Regions from separate parts of the Homo sapiens genome. Here region 1 is linked to region 2. Evidence: promoter capture Hi-C in 16 types of primary human blood cells and fetal thymus (Javierre and others, 2016). All regions are on one chromosome and are shown on one strand. The core of a region is centred on a gene start or on the middle of the fragment in contact, and the rest is flanking DNA. Distances in the headings are between cores, read along the strand shown.

The links. The method cuts DNA at HindIII sites, captures the fragments that hold promoters and counts their contacts. A CHiCAGO score of 5 or more calls a contact.
Region 1: a contact is called between a fragment that was not itself captured here and the fragment with the promoter of HOOK1 in region 2, in 1 of 17 cell types (naive CD4 T cells). The highest score is 5.6, in naive CD4 T cells.

Annotation. Positions count from the first base shown.
Region 1 is chr1:58,818,026-58,823,099 of GRCh38, reverse strand. All of the region lies in intron 1 of JUN-DT (JUN divergent transcript), which reads right to left. Among named protein-coding and RNA genes, the nearest start is that of JUN-DT, 35 kb to the right of the region's middle. The HindIII fragment of the contact is 1,452 bases long and covers 1,502-2,953 here.
Region 2 is chr1:59,813,637-59,819,205 of GRCh38, reverse strand. HOOK1 (hook microtubule tethering protein 1) reads right to left here and starts at 4,257. Exons shown (of 22, transcript NM_015888.6): 1 at 4,026-4,257. The coding sequence starts at 4,088. LOC105378758 (a long non-coding RNA gene) reads left to right here and starts at 4,340. Exons shown (of 5, transcript XR_947426.3): 1 at 4,340-4,444. RefSeq lists an enhancer at 3,390-3,953 and a silencer at 4,190-4,789. The HindIII fragment of the contact is 6,303 bases long and covers 2,685-5,569 here.

The sequences.
Region 1 (5,074 bases), core at 978-3,477, 990 kb after region 2:
AATGAACATACCCAAGTGGTGGAACTGGAACTAGAACTCATGACCTAAGATGAGCACAAACTTTTCCTCTTTATCATATGATGTGGAAAAAAATTATTCACTTATTCGTTCAGCACCAAACTTGGGCAGGGTTGCCAACCACCTGAGAGTGGGCTTGTCCCTAAGAGCCCTTCCTTCCTCTAATAGCTCTCAGATCCACCACTAATCCACCATCAAATTTTGATATGAAAACACAACTAACTCTCTTAGACACTCTAGTCTGTTTTACCAATAAAAGGCAAAGAATGATCAAATAGTCAACTCTGCCCCCAACATAACTGCATCTTAAATAAAGTTGGGCTTATTCTCCCTTCCCCTATCCTTTTATAAAGTTCCCCTCCAGTTCTAAATAAAAGTGTAAAATTGCTCCTCTGCAAATGAATTTCAAGGTCTCCACATCAAAACCCTGTAAGAAATAAAACAAGCAAAGTAAAGGCTTGAATGATTACAAAGCAAGAATATCAATTATGCACTGTCCCACCAAATTAGTTCCTGAAAAACAGAAACTCTCATTTCCATTGTTTCAGAAACACTGTAGAAAGACAAGGCAGTATGGTGGGAAAAGTCTGGGCCTGGGAACTATGGAGTGTTCCAGGAGACCTGAGGCCCAGAGACATTAAGTAACATGCTGAAGGTCACACAACTTCCCAACGGAGCTGAAAATGAAGACAGAATCTGAATTCATGTCATTCTGCCTTCACATTGCTTCCCTGCCCTTTTCGAGTAAGCTGCATGGTGATCTACCCTCAAAGCTGAGTAAGAGCAAAGCCAAGAGGTGGTAACTATGTGCCTAGGGGCCTAGAGCTCCTGGCTATCCCTAACTGTCCTGGGTCCTATAATCATTATGGTGTAATGAATGAGAACATCATGAGGCAAAAGAACTTCCAGATCATCCTCTTTGATTCTGCTTTATTCTATCCGAATCAGACAATGTCACTGTTCCACTCAGATTTCAGTGGGATTCCTTTTAATTGTTTAGGGGGTAGGGGGCTCCAATGTGCCTTCGGTGGCCAGTGCCAGCAGCTCTTCTTGGGTGGACTGTTAGGTGCTGTGGCTCTCCAGCCTTGGGCGAGGATAATCCTGAGGTTTAACCCACACTCCAGAGTCCTCAGGCAGGATCAAGCTGAAGCTGCCCTCCGCAAGTGGCGTCTTAATACCATTCCCCAAATTACAGTGAAAGTAACTTTTACATTTCAGTGAAAACAACCTTGGGATGGATGTGACAGATTCCTTTTTAAGGAATAAACACCAACTTACCACCTGTTTTACACTCAAGAAATCACTCTTTGTTCTGTTTTGATTATTTAAACTCATTTAAAAGATCACATTGTTCTTATATTTTGCTCCATAAGCCTTCATTTTGTTGCTGACTAAAAGCAACAAAAGTCTGATCAAGGTACTCAGCCTAATCTTCTGGCTGATAGTCTACGTTCCATTCATTCATTCACAGCTGGCTCAAGCTTAGAACCAGCTGCACTGGCTGATCTAGTCACATCTACCAAATTATGGTCTGACCTTAGCAACCACCCTGGGAAACAACCTAGGGCCTACCTCAGCCACTGTCCATGCTGTCACTCCAGCCATCTTGCTGTTCCTCTCACGTACCCAACTTGTTCCCACCTCAGGGCATTTGCACTTGCTGTTTCACCTGCTTGGAATACACTTGCTTCAGACCTTCTCCTGGCTCCCCTCCTCACTGCATCAGAGCTCTGCCAAATGCCACGTCCTCAAAGATCCTTTCTTGACTTCGCCATGTAAAATGATCTGCCCATCCCCTACTCTGTCTTTTTATATCTTTCTTCATAATATTTATTACTATCTGAACTGATATAGTTATTATTTACTTATTTATTGTCTTTCTCCACCAGGAGAATGCAAACTCCAAGAGAGGAGATATTTTGTCTGCCCAGTTCATTCTTATCTAAATGGTGCCCAAAATAGCACCTGGGAGAGGGCAGGCACTTGATATATTTTTTGAATTAACAAAAAATGAAAGAATAGCACTTCTCTTCTTCAGCCTTTTATTTGTGAAATAAAACTTTTCCAGAGAAAGATTGAAAAGGCTTGGAAACTGGGAGATCTTTAGCTTTAATCCCATGGGTAAGTCTCTTATGTTACCTATGGATCAAGAAACTCTCTGCCTCAAAAACCTGCAGTGGCTCCCTGTTGCTTCAACAGAGGACAGCTGTCTGTGAGAGTTCGCAGTCTAAGTAAAAACTCAAGACCACCTAAAATAAAATAATCTGACAATGACGTTGTGTGTGTGTGTGTGTGTGTGTGTGTGTGTGTGTGTGTGTGTCATAAACATTTACTGAGTGCTTGCTAAATGCCAGGCACTCTTGAAAGAATACAAAGATATGGATCCACCCCAACCACCATCATTTTGGTAGTAGTAGAGTGAGATATCCAAGGAGGTCATAGGCGATTAAGAAAAAGAGACTTAGGTTGGGCGCAGTGGCTCACACCTGTAATTCCAGCATTTTGGGAGGCCAAAGCAGGTGGATCATCTGAGGTCGGGAGTTCGAGACCAGCCTGGCCAACATGGTGAAACCCCTTCTCTACTAAAAATACAAAATTAGCTGGGCATGGTGGCGCATGCCTGTAATCCCAGCTACTTAGGAGGGTGAGGCAGGAGAATCGCTAGAATCGGGGAGGCAGAGGTTGCAGTGAGCCAAGATCATGCCACTGCACTCCAGCCTGGGTGACAAGAGTGAAACTCTGTCTCAAATTAAAAAAAAAAAAGGAAGAAAAAAAAGGAAGAGACGTGTAAAGAATATTAAAGTGTTAGCAAATGCCAAAAGATAATTCTACATGGGTACATGGGCACGTGTACAAAAGGAATCAGTCCCCTTCATTTGGATATAGGCAGGAGTCCAGAAAAGCTCCTAAAGTAAGCTGCATTTCAGCTGAAGCTTGGGGAACAGGGGCTCCCCAGACAAGCGGGGAGGAGCGGTAGTGAGGGTGTTCCACGGAGAGGAAAAGCCTGAGCAACGGCCAGGAAGGAGGAGGACACATTCTGGAAACTAGAGGTGATAAAGTCAGTCCGAAGTGTGGACTGTGAGCTGGGGTTCAGTAAGAGACCAGGCTATGAAGTAAGCAGGGTGTTTACAGAAAAGATACCACACTGGAGTCAGGCAGACCTGAGTTCAAGAGCTGACCATGTCACAAGCTAGTCAGTCAGTCCGCTCTGAGCTCAACTTCCTTGGAAGTCAATGACTAGGAGGAGGGGGGCAAAGGATCACCAGCTCTCCAGTGAGGTTGGTGGAGGCACGGAGCTGGAAACAAAAGTGCTGGAAAGACTTGTTTTGTTTCAAAACAAAATACTGAAAATGTCCCCTTGCTTTGATTTGTTTTGAATCATGATATTTTGCTTATTTTGAATTTGAAACTCATTAAAAGAGGATGTAAGGTTTTTGTGTTTATCTAGGGTGACTTGGATTATAAAAGAGGCAGAGAAACTCTGGGTGAGGCGATCTTAAAGTCCCCTCTGATCCTCACCTCCAGCTCTAAAATGACTGACATTTGGGCATACAGGGAAAAAGCAGAGAGGTGCAGCGAATCAGATACTGAACTTGAAGTCAGACCCAACTTCTTCCAACTCAGACTTTGCCACTCACTTTCTCGGCAAGTTAACAAGCGTCTTGGAGTGTCAGTTTCCTCTTCTATAATATGATCTTTTCCTCATAGCCTTATTTTGAGGTTTATTTGAAATAATGGATTTGAAAGCAACTGTCACATAGTAGGTGCTCAATAAATGTCAGCTGAGTATACTGTCTTTGTTCTCTCCATATCCCTGTCTCTAATCATAATAGTTTCCTTGTGAATACCTACCATCTGCTGAGTGTTGTCCACAGGCTATCTCTTTTACAAGCAGAAATTAATGATTTAATTCTTTGTTGTCAGTTGAGTTCATTGAATTGCCTCAAGGCGGTTCTGACCCTCAGAATAGAGACACAATGTTTGATGGGAATTTAGGGTATTCTGTCTGGAACTACACAGGTTTAAAATCTTTTGAAATTTAAAGTGGCTTTTTATTACTTTGGAAACCTATCCACTGCACGTTTTTATTTCTAACCATTATCCGTTTTCTCCCTTACTTTCCACATTTAACTCAAGGCTTCAAATACAAAAGCCAAGTTTGAAATAATCACAACATTTAAGCAATGAATGTAATGACAGCTTATATTTCCATGGCAGGAAGATGTACACTATATTTAATAGCTTTAGCCATTTACAGCAAAAATTACCACGGGGACTCCAAAGACAGAGGGTAGGAGGAGAATTCTGGGCCTTTGACTAAAGATGCCATAGTCATAAGCTGTTTTGGAAATGATTAAGTGATAAATACAGTAAATTTACCCTCAATTCTGGGAACCCCACAGTGCAGACATAATTCTACAGAAACAGAATTACTCTGCAAAGGCAGAAGTAATTATTATTATTGTTAAAAGGTCTAAACCTTAAGCCTGTGCTGTTTTATTCTCTTTAGCTGGAAGATCACTAAGTACACAGACGAGGGAACTTAGGTATGTGGAGCATCTATTAGACACCAACTTCTCTATCACTTAAAACCTAACCTCCCTCCACATTCCATGTAAGCACTTGGAACTGGACCCCCAAAAATTACAGTGAGGGAAACCAACAATCTTGAATATCTACGGTGTGCAAGCCACCTTATTATATAAAATATAGCATATGCATGCAATGCTTAATCATATATAAGGAATGCCAATAAGCTCAGAAAGGAACCCCTTGCCTTTGTTGAGGAGGCAGCTGTGTGTGGTATCATTCCTGGCTGCATGCCCATTGCCTAGCATTGTGTCTGATACATCCTGCAGGAATTAAGAATATGGAATAAGGAGCCAAACTTTGTAGATTCAAGTCCTACTTAGTAGCTGTGTGACTTTGGGTAAGTCATTTAACTTCTTCGTTCCTCAATTTCCTATTTGTGAAATGGGATGCTCTTAATACCTCTCTCATACTGTAATTGTAGAATTAAATGAGTTAATAAGGGTCAAATGCTTAAGACAGTGCT
Region 2 (5,569 bases), core at 3,008-5,507:
TGCACTATAGCCTAGGCAACAGAGTGAGACTTCGCCTCAAAAAAAAAAAAAAAAAAAAAAAAAAAAATGCTTATTGGGGCGAGTGAGGTCAAAGCAGACAAAAGAAAATGTATTCTTTCTAACTAAAGTCTTTTTAGTGAGTGACCCAAAAAAGACAGACAGGGTTTCCACAGGTGTCTACCGCTAAACACAGTGTTCTGGCAAATAATTACCTTACTCTCTTCTATATTTCTAAATAAAACAAATAATCAGAAATGTGGAAATGCTGTTCCTAAACTACTTTAATATAAATGTCACAGAAATCAAGGAAAATGGGGTTTTCACAACCAACAGCCAACAAAAACTCAATCTTGGATCAACTTTATTTTCATATTCTCCTCCTCCAGCTGCTCATTACAAAAAAAACAACCATTGCTTTAAGTTTTAAGATCTTCATAAAAATAATTGAGGTTTTAATAATTTTCTAAATTTAGGCATATATTAATTATTACTCTTTCCTTCATCTGCCTGTCAAAGAATGCAAGAACCAAGAAAAACATTTAAATATATTTGGTCCAACCTTCTAATTTTATTGGTGAAAGTAAGGTCCAAAGATATTAAACAAATTTCCAATGTCACAGAACCAAGTAGCAGAATTAAATTTATCTTTATACAAACATTTCTTCAAACTCTCATACATGTCCTCCAACATGTAAATGATACCCACATTTACCCTTTTGCCCTGAATTTTCTGCTAAGTAGCAGTACAACATTTCTAAGAGCCAATTATTTTAAGACGGTGAGTTCCAAATCATAAAATGCAATTTTTAAAAAATTGCCACAAGAGGCATTCCTTCACATAACTAACTTTTCTTGATGACTTCTCTAATTCTGTTGATGTTGGCTCCATTCTCCTCCTAGCGCTGAAAGAAGAGTTATTCCCAACTGTCTTATCTCCATGATTTGGCCCCATCATAACTTTTTTTAATCTTCTATCTTTGAGCCAGGGTTATCATGACAAATGTGTGTGTTCCACTATCTCCCTTTAATCTATAGCCAAAGGAGACCATTTGTTTTACTACTAGTGTCTCTTCCCTGTGTCTGGAGAACTAATTTCCACTGATTTCTACTTGCTGAAATCCAACAATCCTCTATGACCCAGTTAAAAATTCACTCCCAAGTATTTATAAAAAACTAAGCTATATCACACTTAATGGTGAAACACTAGTCTCTGAGGTGAGAACCAAGGCAATGATATTTACTATCACCACTTTGATTTGGTGTCTTATTGGCAATAGTTGTCAGTGTTCTCCTAGGGACAGAGCAGAAAATAGGTCATGTAAGAGCTCTGATCCCAAAAGCCAACTGGATTACTTTAGAAAGTACTGTGTTATAGATAAGACAGAAAGAGGTTAACAGGTTACAGTGGGATAAGGGTGGGAGACAAACTTTAGAAATGGTTGTAACAAAGAGTCCCTGAAAAGCAACATCTGACCCAAGACCTGAATGACGGAAGCAGCCAACCACTGGAAGAACTAGAAAGAGAATATTCTAGGTAGAGGGAAAAAAATCCCTGATGCATTAAAACAGCTTAGCTTCTTCAACAAATAGAAAGTCAATGCAGCATGATAGGCTTGAAGAACTGTTGCTTGAGGTGAGTTTGGAGAAAGTTGGGTAGGTGAGGTAAGATCAACAGTGCGGTTGCTGGCAAAGGCAAAAATAATTAGTTAATTAAAAAAAAAAGACAGTAAACTTCACTGGAAATCATCTAAAGAGGTAAAGAAAAGGCAACAGACAAGATAACCAGAAACCAAGACAAGATAATTTCACAAAGGAACCATCAAGTAAGAAAATGGTAATATAACACTTAGTGGATTTAGCAAACTGGTAATGAAGTGAAAGTCTTAGAGGAAAGAAACTCAAGGGTAGTGGGTTGAAGACTGAATGAGAGTGAAGCATAAAGGGTGAGAATAAAACAACTCAAATTTTACTGTGAAGGAAAGGGGAAATACAGTATGACTTTAACACGGAATAGTGGCTCTTTGTTCTCTGTTAAAAAAGGGGAATACTTCAGCAAGTTTATACATACAGAGAAAGGAGCCAATGGAGAGAAAGTAGTTGTAAATACAGAAAGGGAACAAATGATACAATAACGTTTTAAAAGAGGTGGAAGGGATGGAGTCTAAAGCCAGAGCCAAGGATAAGGAGGTGGTCATTTGCCCCAGAGGAATAAGAGTTGGGGGCTCAGGTAGAATACTGATAAAGGTTTGCTAAGAGGAATGTGAGAGAAACTGTCTGGTTATTCTTAAGTATGGGCAATGTTAGGAGAAAAGGTGCGTTTGACAGTAACAGCATTAGTAGAGGCAACAGTTTGCACGGTCATTCAATTTTCTCCACAGTGCTCAGCAGCCCAAGAGAGGACTGAAGAAAACGACCAATTTTACTCTGTTATCTGTGATTCCTTATCATTTGGTTTACAACATATTTGCAGCTTTTACGGAATTTTACCTTCCACTGTAATTACACACAGCTCTGGCTACCACTCCAGTCCTCCCCAGTGCCTAGCTCAACATTGGAAGTCAATAAATTCTGGTTAAAAGAGTGGATACAGTCACATAATATTTTAAAATATTACAACACAAAAGAAAATCCTGTGCTTCTCCACCACCTCACATGTAAATCAATGACATCATAAAGACTAAGCTTAACACTTCAGTCAATTGAGGTTTACAATAATGTAGCAGATTCGGATACACCCTTTAATTAGTCTGTTTTAACAAAACAAATCATTAAAAGTAATGTTGCCTTGTTTCTACGACAGTCTTAAATACAGCACTTCCACCCCAATACCTATTTCAAATGAAAATTCAGCTGAACAGTTAGCTAATTGCTTTTAACTCACAAACCCTAAATATTTGCATTCCACTAAAAGCAAAAGTTATTTACTTACAAAGTGTAAATGCTTTAAATTATGGCTATTTCCAATAGGCTTCACACATTTCCATAAACCTAGATTTCTCATTCTTTGGAATTAGATGCATTAGATCACTAGGGAATCTCAACCGATTACAGCCTCCTGATCCCGTCTGTTTACATTCCATCTGCACACACTCCCCTAGACGCAACTAAACAACTGGTTTGGGATGAGCATCATCAACAGCACCTTGTGGCTCATCAAACACCATCTTTACTCAATATGGGTTAAGAACCACACCTGAATGCCAGCACTGATATCTAAGTAACTCTAAGAGGTGGGATGTCATTTTGCTGACTGGAATATTGAACAATCTGGGGACAGATATGCCTGTCCAGACCCAACACAAATTAACAAAAATCCTAAACACAGATAAATCCTAAAGAAAAATGTCAACTCATTTTCTTTAAAGAAAATGCTGTCCATTTAGAGGAGGAGAGGGCCAGCGAGAAAAAGGGAAAACGACCCCCGACTCCCAACACATCTTTTTCTCCATACGGGAAATACAAACATCTCTTTGAAGCGGCTTCTACAAAATCGGATGTTCTAGAGTCCTGAAGGAGCATTGGTCCGGGAACTAAAACAGCCAGCCACCTCCTGGCCACCTGTGTCCAGGTAGAGCAAGGTAGTTTGAGGATGCAGGGTTAGGTTTCGGAAAGGGTCTTCACGCCCAAGCGGACCAAGGCAAGAGAGTCGGCGATCCAGAAAGTGGAGGGCTCGGGCGCTGTTCAGGGGGAGAAAATGGGGCAGCGGGGAGAAAAGAGGATGGGTGCTTGGTTCATATCCCAGCTGTTAGGGCACCAGGCAGGTCGAATCCTCTGGTTGAGACCAGAGCCTCCACTGTTACGCTCCCAGAGCTTCCTTTACCCCCACCCCCGGACACCAACCCGCGCCCACACACCTGCCCGTCGACCCGCAGGTGGCATTCTCTCGGTCAAGGGCACGAGGTGAGAAGGGCAGGGTGCGCCGGGACCCTGTGCAGGTAGCCCCAGCTCACCTGGGAGAACCGGGCGCCCCAGGCTCCTCGCCTCGGCCCCCTGGCCCCCTCGCCCTCTCGCCTCCTCGCACTCACCCAGATCATGAGGCTGTCGCACAGGGGCAGCTTAGGCTGCGGCGGCGGCTGCGTCTCCTCCATGGCCGGCGCCGCCGTCGACGACGCCGCGGACACCTTCACACTCCCTCCTACCGGCTCTCCTCCAGGAGCCGGCGTCCACGACCTGCTAGCCCCCAGGAAAGCTCGGTACCAGGCCCGACCCGCGCAGCTCACGCGCGAACCCTCGCGCTGTCGACGCGTCCGGCGTCACCCCCTCCTCACCCGCCCCCGCCTCGCTCCAGCGTTCGCCCCCTCCCCTTCCTGGGCCCCGGCCGCGCTGCCAGGCACCTGAGCCCCGCCTTCTCCCACCCCTCCCCTCCTCCCACCCGTCCTGCCCACTCCCGCACACCTCGCCCCGCCGCCCTGAGTGACCTGGCCGCGCACCAGTCACAGAGACGGTAGGTACCCGGGGGGGCGGGCGGGGCGGGGCGGGGGCGGGAAGAACCGGGATAGGTTGCGCAGGGGGGATTGCTGATTGGACGTGCCCTCGTGGGCTCTGGCCAATCAACGTGAGACAAGCCTGAGCCTTGGGTAGAGAGTGAGAGTGGGTGGGAAGAGGTTTATGACCTGGCAGGTGCAGTGAGGGCGGGGGTGGGAGGTTGCGCGCGGGAAGCGAGCGCGCGTGCGCGGCGGGGATTGGTAAGGCTGAAGCTCAGCCCCAGTGGCCGAAGAGGCAGAGGGGCAGCAGGGCACCGGCTGGGCTCAGGCGTCTTCCCTCCTTCTTCGCGGTAGCACGCCGCCTCGCTACACCTGTGGAGGGCCCACACTCTGCTTCCACATTGTCTTCAGAAATAGATCCTACCGGCTGGGCGAGGTGGCTCACGCCTGTAATCCTAGCACTTTGGGAGGCTGAGGCGGGTGGATCACCTGAGGTCAGGAGTTCGAGACCCGCCAGGCCAAGATGGCGAAACCCATTCTCTACTAAAAATACAAAGATTAGCCGGGGGTGGTGGCACATGACTGTAATCCCAGCTACTCAGGAGGCTGAGGCAGAAGAATCGCTTGAACCCGGGAGGCACAGGTTGCAGTGAGCCGAGATCATGCCACTGCACCCCAGCCTGGACAAAAAACCGAGACTCTGTCTCTAAAAAATATATAAAACAAAATAAAGAAAGAAAGAAATAGATCATACCCATGAATTAAAACTCTTCGAGGAAGGAAGAGCTGATTTCCTCCTAGGCACTCATTGGAAAGGGATGTTTTCATTTGCACACGTGGCAAATATGCCACATTAATAAGGAAAATAGAATCCGTCAGTGCTCCTTAAATAAGCTCTCACGGGACCATAGATCATGAGCAATTTTATTTTACATGGGGCAAAAGGGAAGACCGTTTTCAAGTAGCAAAATAAACGAAATGTTTTGAAAAACATGGAAGATATTAATGTATCCATTTTCCTTTGTCAGTTGAAAATTTGCTTTTTCCGAGAATGTTGTGGGGTGGAGGGGGGTCGGGGGAGGTGACCTGAAATTGGAAGCTCTCCAAGGTATTGATAGATGGCTTAGGTGATTGAAAAGGGCTAG